Linked DNA regions of Homo sapiens: all the other regions are linked to region 3. Evidence: promoter capture Hi-C in 16 types of primary human blood cells and fetal thymus (Javierre and others, 2016). All regions are on one chromosome and are shown on one strand. The core of a region is centred on a gene start or on the middle of the fragment in contact, and the rest is flanking DNA. Distances in the headings are between cores, read along the strand shown. Region 1 overlaps LINC00607 (long intergenic non-protein coding RNA 607). Region 2 overlaps LINC00607 (long intergenic non-protein coding RNA 607). Region 3 holds the start of FN1 (fibronectin 1).

Region 1 (4,300 bases), core at 1,150-3,649, 300 kb before region 3:
TCACCTTTGTCATCCTATAGTGTACCTCTGGACTGGGAAGAAGAGACCTGTGTTCTAGTACTATTTCTTCCACTAACTAGCTCTGTGCTCAGTAAATTAATTTTCCTCGTAGGGATTTAGGTTCCTTCTCAGTCAACAAAGGGCTATTTAACCCAGGGATCCAGGGACTAGCCTCCTGGCCAGTGAACAACATTGCATGTTTTTGTATGAATTTTGTATATATGTCTTCATATATATCTTTGTATGTATATTTTTTTTCTGGGGAGAGTTTCTGTAGCTGTCATCATATTTTTCAAAGGGTTTTATGATCCCCAAATGGTAAGGAACCACATTGGATGAACTCTGCAGACTTATTAATCTCCAGAATTCTGTGCTTGTGTGGTTATGATGCTTTTAAAATAGAACTTGGGAGTCAGTTAAAATATTGTCTGAGAATATCTCCACAGTGAGAACTGTACCATAATTGATTTTCCCTGTACCAAACAAATAAATGGAATCTTATTTTTAGAGACAGGCAGCCCACGCACTGCAGTGATGAAAGGACTCTCCAACGAGGCAGACAGGAACCCTGCAGTTGGGAATACAGAGCCTTCTCCTATGGGAAGACCACAGGAAAAAGAAACACCCAAGGGGGAGGCATGAGTCTTTGTGAAGTAAGGATGATTTACAAGGCAACCAAAGAAATGTCTTGGCTTTCTTATCTAAGGCTGATAGAAAAGAGAATGGAAGATAAGTAATTAAGGAAGTAATTATACTATAGACCAAAAGAAGGGACAGGGAGCTAGGAGTCTGCGGATGTTTTCCGTTCTGCCATTAAACTAGAGCATGACCTTGGGCAGATTAGTTTCCTCCGCTGCAAAACCAGGATCAAACTCTGTGATTATTTAATTGTCATGACTCAAATCTCTGTACTTGCTCATTTCAGCTCATTTCCCCCCTTTCAGTGACCTTGATGAAATTTTCCTGTGCCTCTTTTTAGTTTTTCAGAATCAATTCACTTGCCTAAGTCCTGCTATACTGCATTTTTTCATAAAGGATGCCTCACTGAGAACATTTTATATTTTAAGCACACCTATTTATTGTAGAGAGAAAATCTGCTTTGAAATTATGGCCAGAACTTTACTAGTGCGTTCTTTTGAAGAATGTAGCACTTGAGCAAGAAAACCTAGAGGTCGTTTTTTGGTTTAGAGTGACCACTGAAACAATGATGAAAATAGCTATAAACAGTTCAAAAAGTGATTTGAGTAAAATTGTTCAGAGGATCAGACTGGAGCCTGGGAAGTCCTAGAGTCCTAGCCCTGATGGTAACAGGAAACGTTTGGTACTAACACAAAATTCCGTTCGAATTTTTCATCAAGTAACTCATGGGTGATGATGAAGAATTTTCTGTTTACCTTGTTTGCATTGTTGAACGACTCTCATTTACAATTTCTGCTCTAATATTTAGATTCAGGGACAACTCAAAGCACAACAGTAATAATTGTTTGTCAGGCAGCATTATCCAGTAGACTGGCTCAGTGGTCTCTGGAGTGAGGTGTGAGCACCTCAGGGGAGGTGCAAGATGATCCATTGGATCATGGGGAAAATGTTAAACCCTTATTTAAACTTCTATTAGGTGTACTATCAAGCATGTTTAGGGGATCCCCAGGCTAAGCCATTGTTTATTCTTTGTGAGGTGTTTGTCTTGGGAGATATATACATACAATGTGGTGTTGCTATAATGAGTGCTGAGATTTCAACCCTATAAGAGCCATGGGCTCTGGAGAACTGTGAACTGGGACATTTCTAATGTGATGAGGATTGACAGGTTGTGTCTGATACCATGTGCTAACAGCCTGAAGATATTGAGAAAAAGGACTACACAAAATGAATGACCAATGGACAGTGGATTTGATACACGGTCCCTTGATAGTGACTTTTGAGGTGAAAGTCACACAGTTCAGCTATCTGAGGATTCTGGCAGGCATCACTATAATCACCACCCCCTACCCCTAAAAGGACTCGTATTTTTCCTTGTCTGTTTTCTTTTATCAAGTGGCAGGTAAAACAAAATCTCAAGTTGATTATAGCTCTAGTATCACTTATGTCAATGTCATTCAAAATAATAAAGAATGAGGGGGAGAAATGGACAAACTCTTATGAGGAAAAAAATGGAATCCAATAAAAAGGTAGTATCCAAGGTAAGTTTTAATGCTTGGCTGAGGCTAGTGGCTTCGTTAGAATAACGTGGGAAAATTTTTAAAAATTCTAATGCCTGAAACCCACCCCCAGAGATTTCCACCAGAGATTCCTGTCTTAATTGTCTGGAGTGGAGCCTGGCATCAACTTAACCTCCCATGTTTTGCTGGTTTGAAGACCTGCAAGGAATGTCCTGCCGTCAGTTAATTTCTGTAATAAACATTAAACATGCTGGCTCTCTTTCTCTCAGACTCTTAGGAGGAGCCATACTTTTCCCAACCCATTAAATATTCATGGCCTTGAGAACTGATAAAAGTAGGAGCTGGTACCTATATAACGTAAAAGCTACCATTAGAGAAAGTAAGAAACTTGGCATTTGATAGAAGAAATATTGGTCGTTCTATCATAAATTATTTACTCTCATGCTGTTCCTTTAAAGACATACTTCCTGATTTAAAATTCCTCTCTCCCTTTTTCATATTCAAGTGTGGACATTAACTTCTTCCTTGTCTATCTGGTGGTGCAACTCAGTAAAGAAAAATGTTGAAAAATCGTGTAATGTTAAAAGAACTCTAGGAAGAAAAAAAAAAAAGAATTGGTTACCTCAATTCGTTCACCATTTTTTCAAGGGAAATGAATATTCGGATTTCCCTTTTAAGTTATTAGTTGCTTTGGGGATGATATATCTAAGGTTGCTCAGCCATACTTCTCAAATTGGAATCTGCAGACAGAACTCATCCATTGTTTGGGTGTGCTTCCCCTTTGTGATACAGATGCTTTCCTGTTGAATCCCTTCTGATGACATATGGAGCCACAGGAAATTTAGGGAACAAAAATGGTTTCTACATAAAACAAATGTATACACTTTTGGGGAGATTCCTCTTTTTGGTTTATTCTTGGCACTTTGAAGTGTAAAAAAGAGGGAAGTTAAAAGTACAACAATTGGCATAAATACACATGGATGAAGGAAGAAATCTGATTGCTCTCCATCTCTTTCCACTCTTACATATAACCTGTGTATCTGTGGGGTCAGTCAGGAAAAGAGTATGATAAGAATAGTGGTTTAATAAAGGGAATTTATTATTGGAAACTAGTAAAAAACAATGCGTATTAGTCTGTTCTTGCATTGCTATAAAGAATTACCTGCGACTGGGTAATTTGTAAAGAAAAGAGGTTTGATTGGCTCATGGTTCTGCAGGCTGTAGAGATAACATGACTGGAGAGGCCTCAGGAAACTTACAACCATGGCGGAAGGCAAAGGGGAAGCTGGCACGTCCTACATGCCTGGAGCAGGAGGAAGAGAGAGCAGGGAGAGGTGTTGCACACCTTTAAACAACTAGATCTCATGAGAACTCACTCACTATCATGAGAACAGCAAGGGGGAAATCCCCCCTGCCCCCCCCCCCCGCCCATGATCTAAACACCTCCCACCAGGCCCCTCCTCCAACACTGGGGATTATAATTCGACATGAAATTTGGTCAGGGACACAAATCCAAACCATATCACAATGGTATTGGAAGAGAGGAAGAAATCAAACAGGGAATGGAGGGGCAAAAGAGAGGTTAGTGGCAGCAGCAGATCAGTACCAGGAGGCATCTGGGGAGGAGATAGTATGAGCAGAGGCAGGAAACCAGGGCTTCTGGATGCAGTCAGTAACCATGGCAAAAGCTGCCTTCCGGAGCCAGGTGGGATCAGGGAGGGAGGAGCTTCTTTGCTAGACTAGAACCAGAAAAGGGAGGGAGCAAATATCCTGACTTTTCCTTTCCCCAGCCCTCCAATACGTCTCTAAGTGCTTACAATTGCCTGAACCTAACAGGAAGCCAATCGTTTCTAACTGCAATACAATTTTAGCAAAACAATACTAATTGTCACATTAAATTAATCTTGTTAATTTGAACTGTATTGGTTTGGTAGTTTTGTTTCTAATTTGTAAATTTGTTTTGGTATTACAGTTGTTTAGCATAATGAGTTTATATCTAGTTTTACATTTGTATATATTTTTAAAGTAACATTCTAATGAAAGTAATTCATCAACATTAGGGGCTCAGAAGAATATTTTTCCTCCAAAAACAGGGTATACATTACTCAAGTTTGACAATAATGACATAAAATTCTGATAGC
Region 2 (4,935 bases), core at 2,333-4,832, 290 kb before region 3:
CAGCTATCAGGGAACATTTCTACACTGCTGTGGGGAATGCAAACTAGTGCAGCCGCTATGGAAAACAGGGTGGAGATCTTTTAAAGAACTAAAAGTAGAACTCCCATTTGATCCAGCAATCCCACTACTGGGTGTCTACCCAGAGGAAAAGAAGTCATGATTTGAAAAAGATACTTGCACATATGTGTTTATAGCAGCACAATTCACAATTGCAAAATGGTTACTAACCCAGATGCCCATCAGTCAACAAGTGGAGAAAGAAACTATGGCATATATATACAATGGAATACTACACAGCCATAACAAGGAATGAATTAACAGTATTTGCAATGACCTGGATGAGATTGGAGACTATTATTCTAAGTAAAGTATCGCAGGAATGGAAAACCAAACATTGTATGTTCTCACTGATATGTGGAGCTAAGCTATGAGGACACAAAGGCGTAAGAATGATACGATGGACTTTGGGAACTTGGGGGGAAGAGTGGGAGAGGGGCTAAAAGGGATAAAAGACAACATATATGGTGCAGTATATACTGCTCGGGCGATGGGTGCACCAGGATCTCACTAATGACCACTAAAGAACTTACTCATGTAACCAAATACCACTTGTGCCCTAATAACTTATGGAAAAAAAATAAAGCAGCAATAAGAAAAGAATGCGCTTTCTTCCTATTTTTTTTTTTTTTCTATTTTTTTAAGAGGTAGTAGAGCAGGGTTGTCCAATCTTTAGGCTTTTCTGGGCTACACTAGAAGAAGAAGAATTGTCTTGGGCCACACATAAAATACACTAACACTAATGATAGCTAATAAGCTAAAATTTAAAAATCACACACACAAAAATCTCATGTTTTAAGAAAGTGCTAATTTTAGCAAATTTTGGAAAGCTTCTCAAAGTAGAAGAGAAAGGAAGAGGTGTTAATAATTCTACTACTCTTCTAGGCTCCATTACAGGTAATATTTGACATATTTCTATCTAGATTATTCTATTTTTAAAGAAATGGCTGAGGTAATATTGTGGATATAGTTTCACATCCTGTTTTTTTTTTTTTCACATAAGTAAGTGTATATATATCACAAGAATTTTCCAAAAACACCATAATGTGGCAATGACTAATGTTGGGTATTCAGCAGTTTTAAATTCTTTTTTGTTTGTTTGTTTTTGTTTTTTGGAGACAGAGTTTTGCTCTTGTTGCCCAGGCTGGAGTGCAATGGCACAATCTCGGCTCATCGCAACCTCTGCATCCCGGGTTCAAGCGATTCTCCTGTCTCAGCCTCCCCGAGTGGCTTGGATTACAGGCACGCACCACCACGTCTGGCTCGTTTTGTATTTTTAATAGAGATGGGGTTTCTTCATGTTGGTCAGGTTGGTCTCGATCTCCCAACCTCAGGTGATCCACCCGCCTTGGCCTCCCAAAGTGCTGGGATTACAGGCCTGAGCCATCGCGCCCTGCCAGTTTTAAATTCTTATCATAAATAATAATGAAATGCATATTTTTGCATAATTCTTTGTGTATACTGTGGTAAAATATGCAACATAAAATTTAGCATTGTAACCATTTGAAGCCATTCAATTCCATGGCATTAAGTATATTCACAGTGTTATGCAACTATCACCACTGTCTAGTTCCGGAACTGTGCATAAATCTGCCTGAATTTCACACCATTTCTGCATAATAAATTCATAGAGAGTAGAGTATTGCATTAAAAGAAAACATAAATATTTTAAAGTACATCCAGAAAGGTGGTACTCATTTGCTTTTCTGCATATAAGAATATTGGTTATAACATTCTAGTTAGTCCTTATTTACACTATCATTCAAAATACCTTTGCTAATTTATGAGTAAAAAAATAAGATCTTATCTTTTATTTTGTTTGCATTTGATTATTATGAGGCTGAATATTTTCTAGTATGTTAATTAACTATTTTATTTTACCATGAGAAATGTCCGTATGCCATGAGAAGGGTCATGAGAAGGTGAAATCACAACTCTGCTCTCTGCCCCACCTTCCTGATTCAACTAGAGGACTCTATTCTTACCTGCTTTTTATCTTAGTTTCTGTGAAGGATTTTATTGGAAGAAAGGATCCCTTGGCTAATGTTTGAAAACGACAAATCTGGACTCATGGTTTTCAAATATTTGTGTGTATAAGTAATACCTGAGAAATGTGTTAAAAATACAGATTTCCTAAGACCTATCTCAGAAGTCTCAGAAGCCAGGGGATTTGCATGTTAATCTGGTGCTAGGTTATCTCTTGCAGACTGTCCAAAACCCACATTTTGAGAAATGCTGGCTTATCTTGTTTCCCATAAACTAGGACTCACAAGATGATTCTAAATCTAAGATGATCTTGAGTGGGGTTTAATAAAACCAATGTGGTGTTAACTAAAATGGAATCACACAAGATGAGAGATTTTCTTTTGCCTTCTCTTTCAGTCCTTCTGAATAGATTAAGAGAAGTCTCAATTTGATGTGAGTGCATCTTTAACGTAGCACATATTAACCACCCTTTTAAAAAAAACAGAAACAGGCCTTAGGCTCAGAGCTTTTAGCAGGCAATAGTATCCGCTTAAATTTTAATGGCATTATTTTTTATTCAGTTTATTTGTATGGTTACCTTTTAATTATGAAAAGTTATATTAGAATTTTAATTATAGTAGTGATATTAAGGTATTATATTAGGAAATAACAGTAGAAGTATTATGGGTAAAAATAGTGAAGGTTGTAATCAAATGAATCATATCTATGAATTACTGGTTTGGAACATGAGCTGCTGTACAGAAAGAGCAGATCTAAATCCAGACCTGGGTTGGGGGTGGTTTGGAAGATCCTTTGAAAGGGGACAGAAGTGGAGGTGGCTAAGGAGCTTTGGAAACAGCATTGGACGCTATGTTCTCGGTGAAGGGACAAAGAGGGACACTTCTTCATAATTTTTACCTTGTGGCTCGTACTGCCAGCCGCTTTAACAGGGGTGATGCACTTTGCTGTTTGCTTCTGCAGATGATTCAGGTTAAAACAGAAGAACTTAAGTCTACCTTCAGTGACACATACGTGATTCTTTGCAGGACTGAAGAGTACTAGGCCTTGCCAGCTGGCAGCCCAGGATTTAGCAGAAGGTTAAAGATGCTGCCGTGAAAAGTTACAGATACTTTCCCTTAGCCTCTTCTCTAACGCCATGGAAGAAAAAAAAAATCACTGACTCACTATGCCATGTAAGGCATAAGGAAGACTCTAAGAGAGTTTGTAATGGAGTCCCTTTTAAAGCATGGTAAAAACTGAATTATTATTGACTAAGAAAGTTTCAGGCAAAAATAAAATCCAAATATTATGGATTTGAAAAAGCTGATTCTATTATTTTTTAATTTTTATTTTAAAACATTTTTATTTTACTTTAAGTTCTGGGATACATGTGCGGAACATGCAGGTTTGTTACATAGGTACACATGTGCCATGTCATTTGCTGCACCTATCAACCCGTCATCTAGGTTTTAAGCCCTGCATGCATTAGATATTTGCCCTGATGCTCTCCCTCCCCCGACTCCCTGACAGGCCCCATTGTGTGATGTTCCTCTCCATGTTTCCATGTGTTCTCATTGTTCAACTCCCACTTATGAGTGAGAACATGCAGTGTTTGCTTTTCTGTTCCTGTGTTAGTTTGCTAAGAATGATAGCTTCTGGCTTCATCCATGTCCCTGCAAAGGACATGAACTCATTCTTTTTTATGGCTGCATAGTATTCCATGGTCTGTATGTGCCACATTTTCTTTATCCAATCTATCATTGATGGGCATTTTTAGGTTGGTTCCAAGTCTTTGCTATTGTGTGTGTGTGTGTGTGTGTGTGTATATATATAGATCATATATATATGATCTATATATATATATGATCTATATATATATATATATGATGATCTATATATATATACACACACACACACACACACACAATAGCAAAGACTTGGAACCAACCTAAAAATGCCCACTCTTGTTGCCCAGGCTGGAGTGCAATGGTGTGATCTGCAACCTCTGCCTCCCAGGTTCAAGCAATTCTCCTGCCTCAGCCTCCCGAGTAGCTGGGATTAGAGGCATGTGCCACCACGCGTGGCTAATTTTGTATTTTTAGTAGAGACAGGGTTTCACCATGTTGGTCAGGCTGGTCTCGAACTCCTGACCTCAGGTGATCCACCCGCTTTGTCCTCTCAAAGTGTTGGGATTACAGATGTGAGCCACGGTGCCCAGCCAAAGAAGCTGATTCTAAACCAACAACCATGGTGTTTTCCAATAGACTGTTTAGTATTCATATAAGAAGCATTATTTACAATGCTAACAATTTTCTTTTCACAATAATCATTTATCTAACTGGCTGTAAGATAGGGTAAACTATAGTTTACCCTATTATCTGATTTACCGAACAGATCTTGGTTTTTAAAATGTTAAATCATGTTTTTGGAATAAAAATGGTAAATGAAGAATGCTTGTCACCACATGTTAGTAATGGAAGTATTCTATTATTTTTAATTTTATGTATGTACAGACAAGAGCTATATGGGAAAGTAGCTATTACAGACCCATTATAGTTTCATCATTTATAACCAGGGTTGGTAGTAAAGCAACAGAAATACATCTTCAATGCAGACTTGCTCCCAGCATCTCTTTCCTTTCATCCTTGACCATATTGCATCCTGGACAGGAAGAAGACATCCTCAGCCCACCACCCCTTCCCCTCCAATGTGGACTGAGTGTTGGGTCAACTGATAAGCAGTGCAGACTCTTCATTTTGCTTTGTTGGTGCCTTGGAGGCATGTGAGGGCACAGCCTCAAATTCCAGAGACCTTGCCTTCAGGATTTGAGGTGGGCAAAGATGTGAAAGAAGACCTTTAGCCACTCAGTGTTATCAAAAGCAATCACCAAAGAAGTTTTTGCATCTGGCATTG
Region 3 (4,360 bases), core at 1,728-4,227:
CCTTGTGTATGTTGCTGCTACCTGAGAGCAAGTCTTTGAAACCAAAATCAGGAGATGGTTAAGAGTAAAAAAGAACAAATACTAATTTTTAAAATCAACTTTTGAAAAAAACAACTTTATTGAAGCATAATTTACATACCGTAAAATTCACTCATTTTGTGTATAATCCCCAGAATTTTGAAGCTTTTACCAAATTGTACAGTCATCACTGCAATGTAGTTTTAGAACACAGATTTCCATCACCTCAATAAGATTCCCTGTGCCCTTTTACAGTTAATTCCTGTTCCCAGCCCATAAACTTGGGTACCCATGAATCTACTTTCTGTCTCTATTGATTTCCCTTTTTTTGTCACATTTCTCTCTCTGAATACAGTTTTAGAAAGAAAGAAGGAAAGAAGGAAAAAGAAAGAAAGAAAGAAAGAAAGAAAGAAAGAAAGAAAGAAAGAAAAAGAAAGAAAGAAAGAAATCCAAGAGTATTTCCTACCAATAGGAGAATACAATTTACTGAGGAAGAACCCACCTGGATAAAATAGAATTCTTAAGGAAGTCCAACGATCCTGGACACCACACACGTTGGTTGAATTAGAGTCAGAGTGGTCTTTAAGATTTAATTATCTCTCCAATTAGAGATAACAGACTTAGAGTTACAAGGGACCTTGATAATTAAAGAATACTGTAGTAAGCCCTGTTATCTTAACTAAGAAACGCCTCTGTTTCTAAAGTTTAAAAAAAAAGGCAAAAAAAAAAAAAACCTTTCAAGTAAAAGAGTAAACTCCCAAGCATTCCTATAAAAATCAGTCAGATGTTATTTTTTTTCTTATGAGACAGAGATATCCTGTTTCCTTAAATAAATTAGATATCTATGGGATTGAAATATAAAAGTTTCTTCCAAAATGTAAGGTGGGCTTTCCACTTCAAGCTCCACTATGCATATGATTCTAGTGTATTTTCAGTGCAGTAAATATATCAAACTATCATGGTTTTGGTTGACCAAATACTTTTCTAATCACTTATTTCCTTCCCCCAGAATCAATGAATTTTAAGAAAGCTTTAGCTACAGGTTTATCTTGCTTACATCCGGATTTCCAGGTATCCTTCCCTCTGGAAGAAACACTCGGCTTCCCAGAAATTTACCAAGCATTTTACAAGGAGCTCTTTTATATTTGAAAAGAGAAAACTGTTTTGTCAAGTGATGAGAAATTCCAAAAAAATCCTCTAACCCAGACAGGATTCTAAATTTGGGGAAATCCATGGCACTCTTTCAATTTGGAGTGTGGGTCACAAAGATTCCTCAAGAGGTTTTTTTACACTATTTGTAGGAAACTGATATTTGCTGGGTGTTTTGCTTTGTTTTGGTTTGGTTTTAAATCCTTGCATGAATAAAAACAAATGCTAATTTTGTGTCTTTAATGTGTCAGGCATTTTATAGAACACAGAGTTCTAATTACTCCTGTGGCAATTACTGAAGGTGAAACTTTTGGAGAAAATAGGTACCTTGCCGAAATAAATATATTTTATTAGTAGCTTCTTGTGTTTTAAAGCAAATGGAACCTCTGAACTCCTAACACAAGGAGAAGGCAAAGCATTCAGTTCGGGTCTCTCTGGATCTACTGTGGAAGTGGTGGACTCCTCCTTCTGAAGATCTTTAAAAGCAATTGTGCCTGTGTTTATCTGACAAAAAGGACTGATGTGATGTGTTGCTAAATGAGAGACTTTTCAGATTCCCTTTCCACTCTGAGTTTAGAGTTCAAGGCGGGGGAATCTTAAAGGAGAACTTTCCACACTCTTGGAGTAAATAACAATTGAAATATAAAAAATCTGGCGGCGGGGGATGGAGGGGGCATTCTGTAATGGAACTTGTCAGCAAAAAGAAAATGGCAAATAAATGTGAGAAAGGGGCCGAAGGAGGGCAAGACAGTACATAGGGTGCCCCCCACCCACCCGGCTTTTAATGATTCAAGCAAAAAAATCTCTGCTTTGTGTGTAACTGGCACGGTGAACGTGGGAAAGGACACGAAGACCTTTCTCTCCCCACAGCTGGTCCAACTTTCCAATTTTCAGGTTGTTCACAGTGATTTCACTTTCAGTGGAAACGGGCGTCCCATCCCCAGGAAAGGAAGGCTTTCCTGCATGTGTAAAAAAGTAAACTGTTACTTTGTCCTTGCAAAAGAAAACTTCATTCTCTGAACTTCCCCGGGATCTGCAAAGCGCCCCGCGGAACTCCCGGTACTTAGTAGAAGCTCATTAAAGGTCTCTGTTCCCCTTTGCTCCCCGTTCGCCCGCTGGCCCTTTCTCAGAGCCAGACAGGCACAGCGCTGAGAAGGGAAGAAGTCCGAACAGGGAGCTGTGAAGACAAAATAAGGGAGTCCCGAGTCAGTACCCTTTAGTCCAAAGAAAGGGAGCGGGATGGGGGGAAAGGCAGCCCCGCCCTGGGACTGAAAAGTCTGGATTCTTAACAGCTGCAAGGTCGTGGATATTTTATGGGTTTTCTTCCTCACAAAATACACTCCTATAAGCAGAGATTCCCCCCCTCCACCCCGAAGAGAGGTGACGCAATGTCCTCAAACACTACCACCACCCCCAATAAAAAAGAAAAGGGAAGGGGGAGCGTCTTGCAACCCCTTCGCTTCACACAAGTCCAGCCACTCCCTTTCCTCCCAGCCGCTTCCCATCCCTTCCCCCATCCCCTAAAAAGTTTGATGACCGCAAAGGAAACCGAAAAAAAGTTGTCTTGCCCCAGTCCTGGCGGGCCATCAGCATCTCTTTTGTTCGCTGCGAACCCACAGTCCCCCGTGACGTCACCCGGAGCCCGGGCCAATCGGCGCGCGGTCGGCTGCGGCGGCCGGCGGGCGGGCGGGCGGGTGGGGTGGGGCGGGGCGGGGACAGCCCGGCGGGTCTCTCCTCCCCCGCGCCCCGGGCCTCCAGAGGGGCGGGAGGGGACCGTCCCATATAAGCCCCGGCTCCCGGCGCTCGGACGCCCGCGCCGGCTGTGCTGCACAGGGGGAGGAGAGGGAACCCCAGGCGCGAGCGGGAAGAGGGGACCTGCAGCCACAACTTCTCTGGTCCTCTGCATCCCTTCTGTCCCTCCACCCGTCCCCTTCCCCACCCTCTGGCCCCCACCTTCTTGGAGGCGACAACCCCCGGGAGGCATTAGAAGGGATTTTTCCCGCAGGTTGCGAAGGGAAGCAAACTTGGTGGCAACTTGCCTCCCGGTGCGGGCGTCTCTCCCCCACCGTCTCAACATGCTTAGGGGTCCGGGGCCCGGGCTGCTGCTGCTGGCCGTCCAGTGCCTGGGGACAGCGGTGCCCTCCACGGGAGCCTCGAAGAGCAAGAGGCAGGCTCAGCAAATGGTTCAGCCCCAGTCCCCGGTGGCTGTCAGTCAAAGCAAGCGTGAGTACTGACCGCGGGCTGAAACAGGCTGCCTCAGGGATGGGACCCTAAAGCCGACCAAAGTTGGGGCTGAAGTTTTGTGCGCGCGCGTGTGTGCGAGTGTGTGCGCGCTTTACTGAGAGAAACCAGCTGTGCACACAAAAGGACCGAGTTTTGAGCACGCTGGTTCTGAGGGCCTGGGATGATAAGACCGTGCATTGGAGGACGAGGACTCTGCGACTTTCCCGTGTTCTAATAAATTCTGCACGTTCAGATTGTCCTTCTAGGAATTAACCAAAACTTGCCTTTAAAGAGAAAAATGATGCATGTCTATAAATTTTCCGTCTGGGATTAGTGTGGTCCTTACTGCTACTTATTTCCTTCTGTTAAATAATTGGTCAAATATTTTCAACATGGGGGTGGAAAGGGGGTATTGAAATAGCTGTCTTGTTTCTAACTAACTTGGAAGAGATGTAATTGGTTCAGACCTCTTTAGGGCCGCTCAGGATACTTCACCAAGAACAGAGGTTGGAATTCTTTCCGTTTTTCAAAGACACACCCTCCTTTTGCTTTGAGAAAGCTGCTTAAAGTTGTCCTTTTTGACTATTACTCCAAAAGAATATTTAAGTTCCTTGCATGTTTTAAAAATGTGACTTCAATTGTCTGCCTTCCAAAATGTTTCCAACTTTTTTATGTAGACCCCTGGCCAGATGGAAATGACATCATTGTATATAACTTTTAGCAAAGTTAAAAGGAAAAAAATATGTACGTCAATATTCACATGAAGAAAATTCCATAATTTTGGGAAAAGGAGAAATGCAAATGTAACGTTTTCCTTCAATTATTTGCAGCCGGTTGTTATGACAATGGAAAACACTATCAGATAAATCAACAGTGGGAGCGGACCTACCTAGGCAATGCGTTGGTTTGTACTTGTTATGGAGGAAGCCGAGGTTTTAACTGCGAGAGTAAACCTGAAGGTAAGTGACAA

Evidence for each region. The method cuts DNA at HindIII sites, captures the fragments that hold promoters and counts their contacts. A CHiCAGO score of 5 or more calls a contact.
Region 1: a fragment that was not itself captured here is called in contact with the fragment with the promoter of FN1 in region 3 in 2 of 17 cell types (endothelial precursors and M1 macrophages); the score reaches 6.4 in endothelial precursors.
Region 2: a contact is called between a fragment that was not itself captured here and the fragment with the promoter of FN1 in region 3, in 3 of 17 cell types (endothelial precursors, M1 macrophages and M2 macrophages). The highest score is 8.7, in endothelial precursors.

Annotation. Positions count from the first base shown.
Region 1 is chr2:215,737,230-215,741,529 of GRCh38, reverse strand. LINC00607 (long intergenic non-protein coding RNA 607) reads left to right here. Exons shown (of 10, transcript NR_037195.1): 5 at 509-653. Among named protein-coding and RNA genes, the nearest start is that of LINC01614, 21 kb to the right of the region's middle. The HindIII fragment of the contact is 5,311 bases long and covers 1-4,300 here.
Region 2 is chr2:215,720,499-215,725,433 of GRCh38, reverse strand. The region is part of intron 5 of LINC00607 (long intergenic non-protein coding RNA 607); the gene reads left to right. LINC01614 (long intergenic non-protein coding RNA 1614) reads right to left here. Exons shown (of 2, transcript NR_132383.1): 2 at 4,488-4,935. Among named protein-coding and RNA genes, the nearest start is that of LINC01614, 4.9 kb to the right of the region's middle. The HindIII fragment of the contact is 5,386 bases long and covers 890-4,935 here.
Region 3 is chr2:215,434,685-215,439,044 of GRCh38, reverse strand. FN1 (fibronectin 1) reads left to right here and starts at 2,977. Exons shown (of 46, transcript NM_212482.4): 1 at 2,977-3,390; 2 at 4,221-4,349. The coding sequence starts at 3,243. FN1-DT (FN1 divergent transcript) reads right to left here and starts at 3,354. Exons shown (of 2, transcript NR_187198.1): 1 at 2,736-3,354; 2 at 100-2,126. RefSeq lists silencers at 2,794-2,883, 2,894-2,953. The HindIII fragment of the contact is 4,490 bases long and covers 1,051-4,360 here.